Linked DNA regions of Homo sapiens: regions 2, 3, 4 and 5 are each linked to region 1. Evidence: promoter capture Hi-C in 16 types of primary human blood cells and fetal thymus (Javierre and others, 2016). All regions are on one chromosome and are shown on one strand. Each heading gives the region's core, a stretch centred on a gene start or on the middle of the fragment in contact. The rest is flanking DNA. Distances are from core to core; before and after follow the strand shown. Region 1 holds the start of AOPEP (aminopeptidase O (putative)). Region 2 overlaps FANCC (FA complementation group C). Region 3 overlaps FANCC (FA complementation group C). Region 4 holds the start of LOC107987102 (a long non-coding RNA gene). Region 5 overlaps AOPEP (aminopeptidase O (putative)).

Region 1 (2,614 bases), core at 35-2,534:
TCACAGGAACCCAGAGAGTCTGTGCATGATGGGGACTCTCCTTGCCTTCTTGATCTCATCCTCTGTTCTTCCCATGACCTACTTTCTCACTTTCTCCAAGGCACCACATTCTGCCCCTTCCCTATTGCTTGCTCACATGTAGATTCTTCTCTTGGCTGTTCTTTCCTTAGCTCTCCACAGAGTTGGCTGCTTCTCAGTTTACTGAACCTCTTCAGAGGGCACTTTCTTGACATCTCAAATCAAAAGGTCACCTGTCTTCCTTTAATTTCTCAGCAACTTATTTTCCTTCTACTTTTTTTTTTTTTTTTGAGATGGAGTCTCGCTGTCGCCCAGGTTGGAGTGCAGTGGCGCGATCTCGGCTCACTGCAGGCTCCGCCCCCCGGGGTTCCCGCCATTCTCCTGCCTCAGCCTCCCGAGTAGCTGGGACTACAGGCGCCCACCACCTCGCCCGGCTAATTTTTTGTATTTTTAGTAGAGACGGGGTTTCACCGTGTTAGCCAGGATGGTCTCGATCTCCTGACTTTGTGATCCGCCTGCCTCGGCCTCCCAAAGTGCTGGGATTACAAGCGTGAGCCACCGCGCCCGGCCTTTCCTTCTACATTTAATGTTTGCTTTCTCAACTAGAAAGTAATCCCCATGAGGGAAGGCACAGCGTCTGTCTTGTTCCTGGTTGTTTCCCCAGCTTTTGTTAAGGGTGCTTGCCTGGCACACAGGAGGACCTTAAATTGTGGTGGAATTAATATGTGAACAATAGTCACATGCAGCAGAGGTGAGACTAGGCTAAGGAATAAAATTGCACATCTGTATTTCAGTAACTTTTTTTAAATTTTATTTGAAACAGGGTCTTGCTCTGTGGCTCAGGGTGGAGTGTAGTGGCACGTTCATAGCTCATTGCAGCCTCGAACTCCTGGACCTAAGCAATCCTCCTGCCTCAGCCTCCATAGTAGCTGGACCACAGGTGCACGCCACCACACTCGGCTAATTTTTTAATTTTTTTGTAGAGACGGGGCCTCCCCAGGTTGCCCAGGCTGGTGATTTTTTTCTTAAGCTTCATAAAGATTTTGCAATTAGGAATACTAGGGTACCAGGGCAACTCTACAAGCCCTAGCCAGCCAAGCTGCTCGCGCCCTCCTATGACCGCGGCAGCTCCGCGCCTGCGCAGATCTCCCCCGGGCGGTCTCGCCCTCTCATCCTAAGGGGGCGGGCCTAGCGGAAGGCGGGTCAGGCAGAATGCGGCCCCGGGCGCGTGTGGATGACGTCACCCGGCGCGTGCCGGGGTAGCCCGTAGTAACCCCGAGTCTGCGGAAGTGGTGACCCGTGGGACGCGGCTGAGACAGGTAACCTGTTCGCTCCCTGTTGGGTCCCTGCCTTCCTCTCCTCCGGCGTCGGGATGGCGGCGGGGACAGCATCATTCCGTTCTGAAGGCGACGGGGAACCCTCCCTTACCCTCACTTTTGCTCGACCAGCGAGGACCCGCATCCCCTCCTCAGTTCTCCCAGACTCCTGGGGCTGAAACCCATCCTGGGGACTGGGCGGAGCGGTCACATCTTACCACCTCAGCTGTAGAGGTGGCCACGGGCTCTGGCTGTCTTCTCCCCGGCGGCACAGACCTTTCTCAGCCTCTGGGTGCCTCCTCCTTCGTCTCTTGCCTCCAGGCCCTCGGTCACCTGCCGGTCTCGGCTTCTAGCCCCACAGGGCTCATCTCCAGTCTTAAGTAGGCAGAACAGTTTCGATTCGATTCATTTCCACTTGCAGTGAAACCCATCCGCCTCTTCTTCCCCCGGAGGATCTTTACTGAGAGCACCACATTTTGAGTTTTGGGGTCCCTATAGAACATTCATACTGTTAGTCTGGAGTTTTGTTCATGAACGCATGCATGGGCGGGGAGGGGGTGGCACAGTAATGTGATTATGATTATCTATTGTGATAATAAAATATCCACTTAGGATCCAATCCACTGTTGAGATGCATGGAACAGTTAATAGCATTGCATAAAATGCCCCTTGTACCTGATTTCTTTTTGGTTTTCGTGCAATGATGACAATTACCCTTGCAAAGGTAGCCCTCAAAATAAGTAACATAACCCGCTAGGGATGTTTAGATCGCAAAAAAACAACAATAAGGTTCATATGGTTGATAAAGAAATAATATGGGTTATTACAAAACCAGACAGAATAGATGCTGAGTATATGGGACGAGAAGCAGAATTCTGAAATCCTTGATCTCATTGATTGTTTGGTTTTGTATTTTTAAAATACTTTTAGTCTGTTCCATTTTTGAATAGTGTATATTGTGCTTCGTATAAGTCTGGGAAGCCTTCCAATGACTTGCTAATTGGGAAGATTAGATTCTTCCAATATTTGGGGGACAAAGTAGAATAAGGTTAGGGTATAATAATAGTTGCTTACTGTTGGCCCATCTGCTTTATCCCAGGTACTGTGTTCAACACTTTGCATATGTTTTCTCCTTACTTCATACAACCACCTCGTGAGTTAGGAATTATTACCCCCAATTTATAGAGAAGGAAATTGAGTTTCGGTTATATGAAATTGACTTGCTAAAAATTCACAGTTAACTAAATGGCAAAATCAAGATTTAAATTCAGGTCTGAATA
Region 2 (2,614 bases), core at 1-2,500, 440 kb after region 1:
CACGCCCAGCTAATTTGTACTTTTAGTAGAGATGCGGTTTTGACATGTTGGCCAGGCTCGTCTTGAACTCCTGAAATCGGGTGATCTACCTACTTCAGCCTCCCAAAGTGCTGGGATTAAAGGCATGTGCCACCGCACCTGGCCTAAATTGTGTACTGTTCTGAGTAGCATGATGAAATCTCATGCTGTCCCACTCTGTCCCATCTGGAACATGAATCATCCCTTTACCCAGGGTATCCATAATATATACACTACCTGCTCGTTAGTCACTTAGTAGCCATACTGGTTGTCAGATCAACTGTCACAGTATCACTGTGCTTGTGTTCAAGTAACTCTTATTTTATTAATACTTAATAATGACCTCAAAGTCCAAGAGCACTGGGGCTGGCAATTTGGATATGCCACAGAGAAGTTGTAAAGTGCTTTCTTTAAGTGAAAAGGTGAAAGTTTTCAACTTAATAAGGAAAGAAAAAAATCATATGCTGAGGTTGCTGAGATCTATAGTAAAAACAAATCATCTATCTGTGAAATTGTAAAGAAGGAAAAAAATTTCTGTTAGTTTTGTCGTTGCATCTCACATGGCAAAAATTACAGCCATCATATATGATAAGTGCTTAGTTACGATGGAAAAGACATTAAAGTTGTGAGTGGAATACAGAAATGTGTTATGATTGGTGGCAATCAGGTTTGGTACTATCCACAGTTTCAGACATCCACTGGGTGTCTTGAAATATATTCCCTATAGATAAGGAGGGATTACTGTATGCGATTTCCTCATCAGTGCTCCCGGTCAGTAGAGACAGAAATCAGTTCCTCAGTCTGCTTCCTAAAAAGTGAGAATGTTGGATGCACATTCCACTCTTCTTTTTCCCTCCCAAGGAAGAGAAGCCACAAGCTGGGTTTTTCCTACCAATCTCACCAAGCTGCCAGACCTGGAAAAGGGCTATCACAGTTGACATGAAACAGATTGTTTAATCAATTTCAATGTGGCTATTCTAGACTTTGAGCTTGCCTGCAGTACTGTGACTTCTTAATTGGTTCTGTAGTTCTCACTATAATTTTTTGGGATGTATGCTGTAGTTAAGTCAATGTCTCTACTGGAAAATAAGGTCTAGGACTTCCTATTCTGCCATCTTGCTGATGTCATTCCTGAAGAACGCCTTTAATGTTATTATTAATTCAGTTTTCATCTTCTAGTAATGACCTGCTTATATTCCTTGCTCATTTCTATAACGGAGTGTTTGCCTCTTTATGATTTATTTTTGCAAGTCATTTCTATATTTTGCATTCTGATCCTTTGTTTCTATTTGTTAACAGATTTTAAAAATTATTTTGTTTATTGTCAGCTGCTTTTTAAAAAATCAACTGTGATGCATATTTTGGGAGTTTGGTGTAGGGAGTACATACACACTGCACTGACTGATTTTTAAGGTCTTTTTGAATAAATTTATAATTACATAATTCAAAAGATCCATCAGTCAACATTCACCTCACAACCAAATCCAAGTCTTTACCTGACATGTAAATAAATAAATCTAAACACTCTCCATGTCTCCTATGGTTCTTCTTACATTGCCAAATCCAACATAATGAAGATTATCTCCAATGTTTTCCTCTAATAATTATATAGTTTAAGGGTTAGGTGCAAAGGATTCCTAAAGGTTGAGGACAAAGACAATTTCTGATAGAGCTTGAATTAGCAATAGCTTTACAAAAAAAAAAAAAAATCACCAAGTCCCTCAGTCCCAGATTCTCTTGGTTAATGATATGTCAAAAATGAAATGCCCACCAATGAAAACTGAGATTCTTTTACAGAGTGAAGAAACATTTGTAATGTGATTAATTGCCTTTTAATTTGTCTGAATCTCTTTGATTTGTTTAGTCTAGATTTTGGAATATCATGTTTCTTAAAATAGGGCATATGTTCACATCAAATGTTGCCTTGTAAATATCGTGTGTGTGTGTGTGTGTGTGTGTGTGTGTGTGTGTGTGTGTTGGGAGCAGAAGAAGGCAGAGCCAGGGCAGGCTAGTGTGAGAGCATACACTTGCATCTGTGCACATTCTCCTCTTGCAGAGTGAGCAATCCCAGGGTAAAACTAAGTACTGCTCTTTCTTTTATGCTCCCTACTGTGTATGTAGGGCTTTCTACCTAATGGGCCCACAAAAGACATTGTATGATTTACTTACTGCTCTGTGAGAGTTGAGAAAATAGTGATTTTTAAAAGAGTTTGAAAAAACTCACCAATTTGCTATGTATTCCACTAAAATAATCTTTCTATATAAAATACAACCATAACTGAACATCCATTTCCTATGAATTGTAAAATTTTCCTCTCATAACCAAACTGATACATTTTGAAACCTGAGAAGAAGGATGTTTAGTTTAACACCTACCGCCTTTGAGTGTTAAATCCATTAAGATGATTCTCTCTGAGTTCAGACGCTAATGATAAAACCATCTGTAAAACAAAATCAGTTGCAGGTTAACTCACGCTGCAAACAGGATTACATCAGTTCTATTTTTCTTGGTGTGAGTGATATTTCCGTTGAGATTCCCCCAACCCCCATCTTCTCATGTTTCACTCTGTCAGAGTGAAAAGGAAGCAGTGCCATG
Region 3 (2,614 bases), core at 34-2,533, 420 kb after region 1:
CAGCAGTGGGCTCACTTGACCACTTTTTGTCATGGAAATTGACCTGAAAGAATGACTAGCAGACAGGCAGTGGTCAGTCACATTTTAGGATTAGGCACATACTTTCTCAATAATTAGCAAAGTGACTCAGTCCCCTAAGGAAAATGACTGACAGTGTTTGTAGCCCATGATAAATTTTAGCTTTTAAGCAGAAATTAGAATCTTGGAAAATCTATGTCCACCAACATAAGCTTGACAGCTTCCCAATACTTAAAGTCATTTCTGATGAGCTCCATGGTGGCAGTAATGACTATAGGTTTTGATACTGCATATGAAATATGTCAATGTTTGGAAGATATACATAACTCAATGAATGAAGATTTTCCAAATGAACCATGCATAATGCTACAAAATTATGTGTGTTGGCAAAAAAGATCCATTGAAAGTGCAAGACAGACCAATGGGTTTCTAATGTAACAGAGTATGGAAAGTTAACTGACATAATTTCAGATTCCACATTGCAACTACCCTTTAAAAAATGACCATTTTCAAATTTTGGTGAGCTATCAAAGCAGAATTATCCACAATGATCTGCAATGGCTACTAGAATATTCCCGCCTTTCCCAATTACTATCTATGTGGGGCTGGATTTTCTTCATACACTTCAACCAAAACAACACGTCCCACCAGAAGCAGATATGAGAATTCAGCAGTCTTAGGGTAGAAAATGAGACTTGCAAAAATGTAAAAACAATGCTGCTTTTGTCAAACATTTTTTTTTTTGCCTTGGAAAAGAGCATTGCTTTTCATAAAAATAAGCTATTTGTGTTAACGTGTAATAAAATTATTTTTATTTTTTAAGTAACAAACACATTTTTAAAAATTTAGTTTCAAATATGATAAATATTAATAAGGGTTTAACAGATTTTTAAAACTCTTGGGAATGTATGAACACAAAGAAGGAAACAATAGTCGCTGGGGCCTACCTGAGCAACGGTAGGAGGGAGAGGAGCAGAAAAGGTAACTACTGGGGACTGAGCTTAATACCTGGGTGATGAAATAATATGTACAACAAAACCCTATGACATGTGTTTACCTATGTAACAAACCTTCACATGTACCCCCAAACCTAAAATAAAAGTTAAAAATAAAAAAATAAAATGTTTTGGGATCCTCAGTAATTTTTTTTTTTTTTGAGATGGAGTCTCGCTCTGTTGCCCAGGCTGGAGTGCAGTGGCACAATCTCGGCTCACTGCAATCTCCGCCTCCCAGGTGGAAGCGATCCTCCTGACTCAGCCCCCCTAGTAGCTGGGATTAGAGGCACACACCACCATGCTTGACTAATTTTTGCATTTTTAGTAGAGACAGGGTTTCACCATGTTGGCCAGGCTGGTCTCAAACTCCTGACCTCAGGTGATCCACCCGCCTTGGCCTCCCAAAGTGCTGGGATTACAGGTGTGAGCCACCACACCTGGCCGGGATACTCAGTAATTTTTAAGAGTATAAAGGGTACTGAGACAAAAACGTTTGGACACTGCTGTCGTACAGTCTTTCCAACACACCACAGCCTTCTAAGAAAAGGAAAAACGACGCAGGATGACAGGAAACATTTGCCACTTACAGCAAAATGGCCTCGTTTACAGCCTCAAAGAACTCTGGCTGGAGGATTTCCTGAGGTTCACGTCCATGACAGATGAGGAGAGCCTCCACCAGGGGGTCAACATCTGTCAGGGTAATAAGTGGGACACAAACTCGTGACAGGGACGCCACTCGCTCGGGAGCCATTCTATGGAAGAAATAAGAAATAATCACTCAAATCTAAGAGCCATGCATAATTAAGGACATATAAAAACCTTCATGCTAAAAAGGTCAAAGACAGATCACCTGTTTTGCCTCTAAATAAAGAGAATGACTCTAACACCATCGATGAACACTTCTCTTTTATCCAATTCTTTAGGAAGAAATCTTTTAGCTACCATTGCTGTTTCAGTGTCATTCATGGTCAGGACTTTGTTCTTTATATTCACAGGCACTTAATATGTCCAAAACACAACTCCTGAATTCCCTTCCCAGTGTTCCCTTTCCCCAGTGCTATCTTGTTTGCTCAGGCCCAAATCCTGATTCCTCCCTTTCTCTCAGGCCCCTCATCTGATCCATCAGTGAATACTAGCAACACATCTGACCTCTTCTGAACACCTCCATCACTGTCCTCCTAAGTGGAGAGTAACTCACCACCACCTCTAGCCTGGGTGACAGAGTAGCCTCTGGATTTCTTGTTTCTGCACTCACTCCTATAGTTTAACATCAGAACAGTTCCAGCACCCCTTTAAAAATTCCGATCACAACACTTGTCTGCTCAAAGCTTTGCAATGGCTTCTCACCTCATGTAGAGAATAAGCAATGTCTTTCACTAGCCAGCAAGTCCTTCCATGGTGGGTCCCCATCTGTTTCACTGACTTAATCTCCTTCCACTCTTACCTTTGTCTTTTCTGCCTCTGACTGCCCCAAATAAAGTCCTGCTGTTCACTCTGCCTGAAATACATGATTAGCTCCCTGGTTGCAGCTCAAATGTCCCTTTGTTAAGTGAGGTCTTCTCTGATCATCCCATGTCACTATACTGTCTACCATGTGTGGC
Region 4 (2,614 bases), core at 79-2,578, 380 kb after region 1:
GCCCTTTCTGTGAGCATCTCCCCACATGCCTACTGGCCATTTGTACATCTTCTTTGGAGAAATGTCTGTTCAAGTCCTTTGCCCATTTTTGAATTGGGTTGTTTATCTTTTTGTTGTTGAGTTATAAGAATTCCTTATGTATTCTGAATACTAAACTCTAATCATATATATTATTTCCAGATATTTTTCTCCCATTCTGTGAATTGTGTTTTCACTTTCTTGACAGTATCATTTGATGCACAAAAGCTTTTAATTTTCATAAAGTCCAATTTATCTATTGTTTTCTTTCATTGCTGTGCCTTTGGTATCATATCCAAGAAATCATTGCCAAATCTAATGTCACAAAGAGTGCTCACTTTTGACTTGGACCGTTTTTTACCCCTCAAGTCAAGTGGGCTTCAGGAAGGATTTCTTTGTAATAAACCAATTTTTTTAAAGATTAACAGAATTCTTTGCACTGTTGCAGTGAATAGCATTGTGGTTGCTTTGCGAGCCCATTCTCATCGTGGCCTTACTTCTTTCCATGAGGAGGAGGAGAGCAGCACACTGCGATGGAAAGAAATGTACGTAGGGGGACAGGAGACCTGGCTTCTACCGCAGGCTTTGGCAGCAAGCCGTGGGCCCAGGAGATGGCATCTCCTGTCTCTGAGCCTCTGTTTTCTCTTCTATGACATAAAGGTGCTGGAAGGGGCAGGCTCTGGGGTCCATCCCAGCTGTCAACCTCCTTGACCATTTATCTGTGCTGGGCAGCATCCTGGTACACACACTGTGCAGAGGCCAGACCCTCGGACAGGTAACCCACCTCTCGCCTGGAGCAGAAATGAGTACTAGGATGCTGGACCACAGGGAGACTTACCAGGGTGATGACATCCCAGGCGATCGTGTGGCCTCCAGGAGCCCAGAGCAGGAAGTTGAGGAGAAGGTGCCTGATCAGCTGTTGTGCAGGAGCTCTGAGGTCTGTGTCTGTGCCCTGTCCTGCTACCGTCTGCAGGTCCTGGGCTGAGAGGCTGCTGCTTCTGGACATTGCCAGGAGGTGGCCCAGCACGGCCTTCACCTGGACCTGGGCAATAGTATTTCACAGGGGAGAGGTTAGGAAGAGGCAGGACAGACATACTTCTAGGATTTATTTATTTGCTTTGAAACAACCCCCAGAAACGGGTAAGCACTGGCCCCTGAGAGAGGGAGCTAGGCAGCGGCCGAATTTACACTCGATTTCACACAAACCCAAATGGGCGGAATGGAAATTTCTTGACTTTCTTTCGTCTTGCTCACCAAGCAGTCAGGGCACCATGCCAGGAACTGACCTTTTTTTGTATAAAAGGAAACAGAGAAAAGTTCTCAACAGAATGTAGTCAGATTTTTATATTGTGGGAAAAAGAACAAAAGGCTCCTTGAAGACTCGCCTATCACAGCCACAAATCAATTAAAGCCCCACGCAGTCAGACCTCCGCCGAGCCAGTGTTCCCATACGAATGTAGGCTTGCCTTTGCTTCTTGCTATATTGGGGGTCAGGGCGGGGGGTCGGGGGGAACACACACACATGCACGCACGTGTACACAAGCACGGTCATACACACATGCATGCACACACAAGAACACATTTGTTTTAGATGCCGGAACAATCTGTTCATACGTGTTTAATGCTCAAGCAGAGGCCACAAGTCTGTGGAACCCACATAATAATGGTAATTATAAGTCTGCAGGTTGCTTTTGCATAAAAAATACTCATTCCATGCTGAGATGTTTCTGCTTGCTACAAGAATGGTACACCCAGTCGTGACTTGGAAAACAAAGCAAAGCAAAAACCGAAAGCCCATAGCTCCAAATGCCACATGGAACTCGTGAACAGCTATGTTCCATCACTTCTGAAAGAATACTTAGGCCTATTCTGAGAATTCCCATGACCGATTTTATGGATTTTGTGTGAGGCGTTTTTTTTCCCTGGAAGTCAAGGCCTCATTCAATGAAGTCTGTCATAAACTCCAGTACACTGGGTGTGTTGTGTGAGCTCCTCTGACCACAATACAAGACCGTGAGAAACTGCACCATCGGGCTCTTCCACGGGGAGCGGCAGCGCTCCAGCAGGGCAGGCCTCACTCTCCCCACCTCGCCCCTCAGCCGGCCCAGCCTGCCGGGTCTGATGGTGTCTACGGGAGCCCAAGGCCATTCTGCCATCTAACTGGGTCTGCAAAAATGTCAGGGTTTAGGAGGCTATGCCTTTATATCTGTTTTTTCTCTTGACCCACAACCGACTTTCTGCCCTTGTCCAATAATCCCTAAGATGGGGTCTATCTTCCTTTATGTCTGGCCCAGACTGTCTTTCCCTTCAGAGGCCGTCCATGCTCATGGGCTTCCACTTGAACACCGATAACTAACTTTAAACATGTCCTAAGTTTTTCAGGAGAAAGATAAAAGCTTTCTTTTCTTTTTAAAGTATTTTTTATCCTGCATTATAAAGACATATATGCTTACTATGGAAAATTTGAAAAGAGAAAAAGAAGAACCATTAAAATGATCTATAACTCTACCATCCAAAAAGACTCACTGTTAATAATTCGGTTTATATACTTCTTGTCTTTTTTCTACGCACTGAGACCATACCACTCACTACACAT
Region 5 (2,614 bases), core at 39-2,538, 350 kb after region 1:
TCAGAAGAGCAGGCTTCCCCCTCCACTGTGTTTCTGAGCCTTCCAGAGTTCAGCTCCATGGAACCTCTTGGGTAGTGTGTGATAAGTTTCCTGTAAAGGCAGAAGTGGAGTCTGGCTGGGGCTGAGGCTGGGGCAAGGCTAAGGGAGCCATCTTTACAAATGGTTTGCAGGATTCCCAGGTGCCTGTCCCTGGGTCTCCCTCCCAGGAGATGGCCTGAAAAGCTGTAGCTCTTCCCAGGCCCTTACTACTCCTGGGACTCCCCTGCTCCCTCTGCTGTCCTGCTGCGAGTCTCTGACCTGGCCCAGGCTCTTGCTCAGCCATGTGGTTCCTACCTCCTACCTCATGCCAGCCCAGCCTGTCTGTGGCCCTCCCTGCATGTTGACGCTCTTCTAACCCCCATCTTGGGGAGCTGGAGCTGGAGTGGGGCCTGGTTAGAGCAGCTTGCCTGAGCCGACGAGGGTCCAGCCTGGAGCATCAGGCTCTGGAAGCCGAGCTTGTATGTAGGTTTTCACACTGTCCGGGAGTCAAGACACAGTGGGTTATGAAATCCATCTAGTAGGTCACCAGTCAGCATTTTAAAAAAAGAAAGAAGAGGCCGGCGCGGTGGCTCCCGCCTGTAATCCCAGCAGGCCGGGCGCGGGGGCTCCCGCCTGTAATCCCAGAAGGCTGGGCGCAGTGGCTCACACCTGTAATCCCAGCAGGCCGGGCGCGGTGGCTCACACCTGTAATGCCACCACTTTGGGAGGCTGAGGTGGGTGGACCATTTGAGGTCAGGAGTTCAAGACCAGCCTGGCCAACATGGTGAAACCCCATCTCTACTAAAAATACAAAAAAATTAGCCAGGCGTGGTGGCACATGTCTGTGTTGCCAGCTACTTGGGAGGCTGAGGCAGGAGAATCGCTTGAACCTGGGAGGCAGAGGTTGCAGTGAGCCGAGATCGCGTCACTGTACTCCAGCCTGGCAACAAAGTGAGACTCGGTCTCAAAAAACAAAAAACAAAGAATAAAAATACCAGACTGCATTGCGTGTAGTGAAGGAAAGTGTTGGGAAATAACACTTTGATTTCAGTGTGTGTCTATATGTTCTACATATACACATTTGTGGATACGTATGCACACATAGATATGCATACGTGTTTGTACTGACCATCACTCTGCCCCGCACCATTTCCCAGTGCCTGTCATGCAGTTGGCTGCCATGAATGTGCTTGGAATCAGTGAGCCCCATCCTCATAGCCAGTGCCTGTGTGTGTGCTTCCTTCCACGTGCTTTTTGGATACCCAGGTTGCATGTCTGCTTGGGCCTCCTAGGTGGCTCAGGCCTGTACCACAGACATACCCCGTCCTCCCTGTGGCAGTCTGTCAGTGGGGTAGGGTCCACAATCCTGGAACCATTACTTGGATTCCTTGAGGATTTTAATTCTCTACTGCCAGATATGTGTCTGATGTGAATTGGCTTCCACATACCTGCCCTTCATTCTTCCCACCCTAGATTCCAAGACCCTCCCACCTGCACCCAGCCTCAAAGAAGCAGTTGTGTGGAGCACTCTTAGGAGAAGCTGAAATCTTTGCTGTCATTACCCTGTATTCATGGAGGCTTTGGAAACCCGGAAAGTGCTGAATCCCTTTCCAACAGTATAAATTGCGCCTCTGTGTTACCCCGACCTGTACGCTAAGTGAGGGCAGCACTGTCATTGTTTCTGTTGAGCATGTCCCGTAAGCAGAACACTTTGAACAGCAGATGTCCAAAGTAATTTTTATTGGACTAAAGCATTCAAGGGTGCACACCTGTGTGTTGTGCAAAAGTCAACTTCACTGTGATGACATGGAAAGGATCCAGAGACCCAGATGCCACTTCTTCTTGCGAGAGCTGTGCTGATTTATTTCATATGTGAGCTCTCGCCCACTTCCGGCAGGTCAGGAGGCCAGCCAGGCCCAGGCCGCACCTGCTCTTCCCCCTCCCAGGCCACCTGCTTGTCTGCTGCCCAGCGTCAGCACCGGCAGCGGCAGAGGGAAGAGATGAGCACATCCTTGATAGGTGAGGTGTTGGGTGCTTGAGAGGCTGGATCCAGGGCAGAGGTGTGGGTGCTGCAGGTGTCCAGGACCCTGTGCTCACTGCCACGGGCAGCTCTGTTCTCACTTCTCCGTGCCCTGTCCCTGTTTCCCTTCTGCCGTCTTGTTCTTTCTCTACTTGCCCAGTCTCCTTCCCTCCCACACCAACTTCATCATTTTCCTCCCTCGCCCCTTTGGTCATGGTCTGCGGTCTGGGTCTGTGTAGGGCTGAAATACATGCTGACTCTAGGCTCTCAGGTGATTCCTGGCATAGATTTGGAGTGACTTGATGAATTTTAATCACAGTTTTAAAGGTCATTAAATTTTTCAACTATATTGACAATAGAAATATAATAAAATGTGAATATTTGAAGTGTACCATTTGATTACTTTTGGCATATGTACCCATGAAACATTAAACATCAATGAAGAGAACTGAGAAGCCAGATAACTGTATGCAATTAAGAAATACAAGCAAAACCGCCATGAACAAAGTCAGACAGATTGACAAACCTGGAAAAAGCTGCAGTTTCATCAAAGATGAGCTAATTTTCCTAGTACTC

What was found. The method cuts DNA at HindIII sites, captures the fragments that hold promoters and counts their contacts. A CHiCAGO score of 5 or more calls a contact.
Region 2: a fragment that was not itself captured here is called in contact with the fragment with the promoter of AOPEP in region 1 in 4 of 17 cell types (M2 macrophages, endothelial precursors, M1 macrophages and 1 more); the score reaches 6.9 in M2 macrophages.
Region 3: a fragment that was not itself captured here is called in contact with the fragment with the promoter of AOPEP in region 1 in 2 of 17 cell types (M2 macrophages and M1 macrophages); the score reaches 5.7 in M2 macrophages.
Region 4: a contact is called between a fragment that was not itself captured here and the fragment with the promoter of AOPEP in region 1, in 3 of 17 cell types (endothelial precursors, megakaryocytes and naive CD4 T cells). The highest score is 10.2, in endothelial precursors.
Region 5: a fragment that was not itself captured here is called in contact with the fragment with the promoter of AOPEP in region 1 in 1 of 17 cell types (endothelial precursors); the score reaches 6.8 in endothelial precursors.

What each region holds. Positions count from the first base shown.
Region 1 is chr9:94,725,415-94,728,028 of GRCh38, forward strand. AOPEP (aminopeptidase O (putative)) reads left to right here and starts at 1,285. Exons shown (of 17, transcript NM_001193329.3): 1 at 1,285-1,337. RefSeq lists enhancers at 897-1,066, 1,012-1,554, 1,077-1,556. The HindIII fragment of the contact is 1,744 bases long and covers 1,047-2,614 here.
Region 2 is chr9:95,168,685-95,171,298 of GRCh38, forward strand. FANCC (FA complementation group C) reads right to left here. Exons shown (of 15, transcript NM_000136.3): 6 at 2,395-2,459. Among named protein-coding and RNA genes, the nearest start is that of MIR3074, 84 kb to the left of the region's middle. The HindIII fragment of the contact is 3,108 bases long and covers 1-2,614 here.
Region 3 is chr9:95,148,323-95,150,936 of GRCh38, forward strand. FANCC (FA complementation group C) reads right to left here. Exons shown (of 15, transcript NM_000136.3): 7 at 1,601-1,765. It also overlaps a transcript of AOPEP not described here. Among named protein-coding and RNA genes, the nearest start is that of MIR3074, 64 kb to the left of the region's middle. The HindIII fragment of the contact is 2,111 bases long and covers 229-2,339 here.
Region 4 is chr9:95,106,210-95,108,823 of GRCh38, forward strand. FANCC (FA complementation group C) reads right to left here. Exons shown (of 15, transcript NM_000136.3): 14 at 857-1,060. It overlaps LOC107987102 (a long non-coding RNA gene), which reads left to right and starts at 259. Exons shown (of 2, transcript XR_001746847.2): 1 at 259-563; 2 at 679-2,537. It also overlaps a transcript of AOPEP not described here. The HindIII fragment of the contact is 2,168 bases long and covers 245-2,412 here.
Region 5 is chr9:95,072,874-95,075,487 of GRCh38, forward strand. All of the region lies in intron 14 of AOPEP (aminopeptidase O (putative)), which reads left to right. Among named protein-coding and RNA genes, the nearest start is that of MIR6081, 8.8 kb to the left of the region's middle. The HindIII fragment of the contact is 2,960 bases long and covers 1-2,614 here.